Regions from separate parts of the Homo sapiens genome. Here region 2 is linked to region 1. Evidence: promoter capture Hi-C in human tissues and cell types (Jung and others, 2019). All regions are on one chromosome and are shown on one strand. Each heading gives the region's core, a stretch centred on a gene start or on the middle of the fragment in contact. The rest is flanking DNA. Distances are from core to core; before and after follow the strand shown.

The links. The method cuts DNA at HindIII sites, captures the fragments that hold promoters and counts their contacts. A contact is called where the count stands out against the background at its distance.
Region 2: a contact is called between a fragment that was not itself captured here and the fragment with the promoter of IZUMO3 in region 1, in 1 of the 25 tissues and cell types used here (dorsolateral prefrontal cortex).

Annotation. Positions count from the first base shown.
Region 1 is chr9:24,544,624-24,547,168 of GRCh38, reverse strand. It overlaps IZUMO3 (IZUMO family member 3), which reads left to right and starts at 1,272. Exons shown (of 7, transcript NM_001365008.2): 1 at 1,272-1,745; 2 at 1,883-1,957; 3 at 2,108-2,197; 4 at 2,409-2,426. The coding sequence starts at 1,520. RefSeq lists an enhancer at 1,623-2,545. The HindIII fragment of the contact is 4,602 bases long and covers 1-1,943 here.
Region 2 is chr9:26,020,781-26,023,325 of GRCh38, reverse strand. No RefSeq gene overlaps it. Among named protein-coding and RNA genes, the nearest start is that of LINC03106, 45 kb to the left of the region's middle. The HindIII fragment of the contact is 5,502 bases long and covers 1-2,545 here.

The sequences.
Region 1 (2,545 bases), core at 23-2,522:
TGGTTTCCAGAAGGTCACAGCCATACAGGCAATGTATTAGAAAAGAGGTAACCAGTGCTCTTAAGAGTCTGAAAAGCAACCTCAATTTATTCAAATAACACAGAATATTTTTATTCAAAGGGCCATTGAAAGGAGAACATGTTTATTTGGACATCTTCCTTGTAGGTGGTCTGAGAGGGAAGCCCATGATAACCACTATGTTTTTATATGTTACATACTTTGCCAGTATTTTAGAATGCACTTGTTAAAGGATCTGAACTTTATTGGATTCATCACTCAGTATTCCTCAACTATTGTTTCTAGTATCTGACTCCACACTCTCTATAAGAAGAATGCTATAAAAAGATTAGAAATCACCAGGCACAGTGGCTCATGCCTGTAATCCCAGCACTTTGGGAGGCCGAGGCGGGTGAATCACCTGAGGTCGGGAGTTCAAGACCAGCTTGACCAACATGGAGAAACCTCATCTCTACTAAAAATACAAAATAAGCCAGGCATGATGGCACATGCCTGTAATCCCAGCTACTCAGGAGGCTGATGCAGGAGAAACACTGGAACCCGGGAGCGGAGGTTGAAGTGAGCTGAGATCATGCCATTGCACTCCAGCCCGGGCAACAAGAGTGAAATCCCATCTCGAAAGAAGAAAAGAAAAGAAAAAAAAGAAAAGAAAAGAAAAGAAAAGAAAAGAAAAGAAAAGAAAAGAAAAGAAAAGAAAAGAAAAGGAGAAAGAAAGAAGGAAGGAAGGAAGGAAGGAAGGAAGGAAGGAAGGAAGGAAGGAAGGAAGGAAGGAAGGAAGGAAGGGAAAGAAAAGAGAAGAAAGCAAGAAGAAAAGGAAAAGATTACAAGTCATGTCTAGAAAATCATCCTAGTGATAAATGTAGCCTGAAATATGTTACTGTCTATTAAAATTGCCAAATATTATTCTAGATAAATGCTCACTCCTTTATTCTCAACAATACTGCCACCAGTATTTGTCAACAATACTGCCCCAGTAGGGACCGAGACCCGCAAGAAACTCAATATTCTTGGCTTTTCTTACCTCTAATGTAGAAGCAGAGTTTGAGTTAAGCAATCTCTCAGGTTCTATAGGATCACTTCCATAACCCATCTCTGATGATAAACATCTCTGAAGGTCAGGAGGGGGTTTAAGAGTCTCATGAGGATGCAAGTCAGGGAGAGGGCTAAAGAAACACTTTTTCTGAGACATCTCCCTGCACAGAACTCTGCTTGTGTGAGCTCAAGGCTTCTCTATCTCTTGGTGTTCTACACTCAGAACTCAGGTATCCGCTCCCCAGCTGGCAGTTCCCTCTCCTAGAATGAAGGATAATAGTCAGTAAACAACTAAAGATCATTAAACTAAACAACTAAAGATTGCCCGATAGTGGGATGGAAACAGCGGGAAAAGTGGAGTCAGACTATCCAGAACCAGGCTCTCATTCCCGGATTTTTGAAGGAAAAGGAACTAAGTGAACTAGTTGCCAGGACAACCTGCTGTCGGGGAGCGGGGGTGAAGAAAGAAATGGGTGACCTGTGGTTATTCCTGCTCCTGCCCCTCTCAGCCTTCCATGGAGTCAAAGGCTGTTTAGAATGTGACCCCAAATTTATAGAGGATGTTGGCTCCTTGCTGGGAAATCTGATACCTTCAGAAGTCCCCGGCCGAACTCAGCTGCTTGAACGGCAGATTAAGGAGATGATTCATTTAAGCTTCAAGGTCTCCCACAGTGACAAGAGGCTTCGGGTGTTGGGTGAGGGAAGCTTGAGTTCCTGAGAGTCCAGGGGCTTAAACGGAGAAGGGAGGCAAGGAAGAGAACACCTGGGTCTACATAACTTCCTGCATAGATGTAATTATTCCCCTACATGTACCTTTACTCTCCCTCTCTAGCTGTTCAGCAGGTTGTTAAGTTGAGAACATGGTTGAAGAATGAATTTTATAAACTGGGCAATGAAACATGGAAAGGTGAGGTACTGTTTCAATGTTAAAAGTTTGTATTGCTCAAGCAAGCCTCAGAAAATTTGGCTGGGGAAAACAAAGATAAAAACAGACATAATTAACTTCTGAAGGGAAGAGCTACTTCTATTTTTTGACACCCCTTCCACTCCCTCTTAGGTGTCTTTATCTATCAAGGCAAGCTTCTCGATGTCTGCCAAAACCTGGAATCCAAACTGAAAGAATTACTAAAGAACTTCTCTGAAATTGGTAAGTAAAACTTTCTATATAACAGCACTGAAGTTATATGAAGGGAATAGAAAATGCGGGATGAGGGAAGAAATGCAAGTTCATAATAGAGTTATTTAGAATGGGTGGAGAGGTAACTGGAACTTAAAGGGTAAACAAAGACTACTTGGGTATAAATATGGCAAACTGTAGCTGGTTTTAAACTCATTAGAACTTTCTGATTCTCTTCTAGCTTGTTCTGAAGATTGCAGTGAGTACAGTACATGTGACGCCTTGAGGTTTCAGCCCATATTTTCCCATCTCCTTTGCTCTATATGGCCCTATCTCTCCCACCTGTTACACTGGGAAACCAATTCCTAGAGCTGTGGT
Region 2 (2,545 bases), core at 13-2,512, 1.5 Mb before region 1:
AAAAAAAACAGCCCCATCAAAAAGTGAGCAAAGGATATGAACAGACACTGCTCAAAAGAAGACATTTATGCAGCCAACAAACATGAAAAAATGCTCATCATCACTGGTCATTAGAGAAATGCAAATTAAAACCACAATAAGATACTATCTCACACCAGCTAGAATGACGATCATTAAAAAGTCACGTAACAACAGATGCTGGAGAGGATGTGGAAAATTGGAACGCTTTTACACTGTTGGTGGGAGTGTAAATTAGTTCAACCATTGTGGAAGACAGTGTGGCGATTCCTCAAGGATCTATACTAGAAATACCATTTGACCCAGCCATCCCATTACTGGGTATACACCAAAAGGATTGTAAATCATGCTGCTATAAAGACACATGCACACGTATGTTTGTTGCAGTACTATTCACAATAGCAAAGACTTGGAACCAACCCAAATGTCCATCAATGATAGACTGCATAAAGAAAATGTGGCACATATACACCATGGAATACTATGCAGCCATAAAAAAAGATGAGTTCATGTCCTTTGCAGGGACATGGATGAAGCTGTAAACCATCATTCTCAGCAAACAATCACAAGAACACAAGACCAAACACCGCACATTCTCACTCATAAGTGGGAGTTGAATAATGAGAATACATGGACACGGAGGGGAACATCACACACTGCGGCCTGTTTGGGGGTGGGGAGCTAGGGAAGGGATAGCATTAGGAGAAATACCTAATGTAGATGACGGGTTGATGGGTGCAGCAAACCACCATGGCACGTGTATACCTATGTAACAAACCTGCACGTGCTGCACATGTACCCCATAACTTAAAGTATAAAAACCAAAAAGAAACATCATACTCATAAGCTGTCACTCTCCATTTTCCCCCATTCCCTGCACCACCTCCAGACTTAAGCAATCACTAATCTACTTTCTGTCTCCAGTTAGCCTACTCTGAACATTTCACATAATCTCTAAACTATTTTTGCAACCCTTTTGGAAGTTTAAAATTGTCTCAAAAAGCTGTATTTACTTTTCTGTTCTTTTTGGAAATATATTTTTGTGAATAATTCGTTCTTGTGTTTAACAAAATATTTAAAATGTTACATAACTAATGTAAAAACAGAATAGTTTGCATGTGATATTTTTTGACTCAGGAGCCAGCATCTTCAATATCATACTGTATTGTCACACAATGCACAAGTCTTAACTTATTTCTTTCTACATCTGCTCCTGTGTATAAGAGAGTTTATGGCCTATATTAGGTATTTAGTAGATTTTTGTTGAATGAATACCAACATATATGTATATATAGATAAATGAATATGTGAATGAATCATTTCACATTATATAGGCATAAAATTGGTTTAAGTAGGCTTTCAAAATCAGTTCATTTTATGAATTTTTAAAAATAATTTCAGCATCATTCATTCTTTATTTACAATCAGAACATTTTAAATTTTAATGCTGGCTCTGCTCTTTTTAACTTTTTTGATCAAATGATCTAATCTTATAGGTAAGCCTCACTTAATTTACCTAAAAGTAACAATGATAATATATTCCTACACCAACTCATGTCATTGTTGTACAGATCTTGTGAAATGATGTACTTTCTAAAGACTCGTATAGAAAATTATTATAATATATGAAGAGCTGTAACTTGGGAGATATATTTTCATATGATGATATGAACTATTTTCTAACATCGTTAATGCATTCCTATGTGAATCTGCTCAGAGTATACAACAGTAATAAATAGTTAAGTTTCCTTGAGTAATATAAAACCATTGTCAGACTTATCTGGCTGGTCCAGATGGATGTTAAAGAAGATTCTTTCCATAGAAGAGTTTTCATTTACACATGTGAGTTCCCATTGATGTCAAAGCAAATATCAACCAAGAAAAGAAGCTCTTAAAACTAACTTCTCAGATGTCTAGCACAGGGACTCACAAGAAAGAAGGATAAAATAAAATATAAAAATAAGTCTCACAGTGCCTTAGAAACAAGTAGACTTAAGTAAAAAACATTTTAGGAAAAATGGTCTCTGCCATAAATCAGAATTAAAGGTATAAGGAAAGTTAAATTCAACAACAAAGACAAATCAATTTAACTCCAACTGCTATCTAAAACATACATGAGGAGTAGAATATGAAGCTCTTGCTTAGTTTCAATCACACAACAAAGCAAGGCTTATTAAGGCTTCCCAGAAAGTGTCAGGGTTATTATGGCTTCTCAGAAAGCAATGGCAAGGCAGACTTCAAAGAAGATGGCCTAGGTCGCCAAGCAACTATCCATATAAAAATGGCATAACAATGAAAAGACCAAAAATTATTATGGGCCTAACATAGTCTCAGTGTATCCTGAATGAGAACCTGGATTAGGCAAAAATAAGGAAGAATAAAAGGAAGTAATATTTTTAGTATTGTATAAAGTTATTATATAATGTTTTAAAGCCATATGTTCAAACTTGAAAACTTTTCAGGCACTTCAAATCGGTTGTTTTCCTCATTGAGTAAGTCATTTTTGGCCATAAATCATGTATTTACA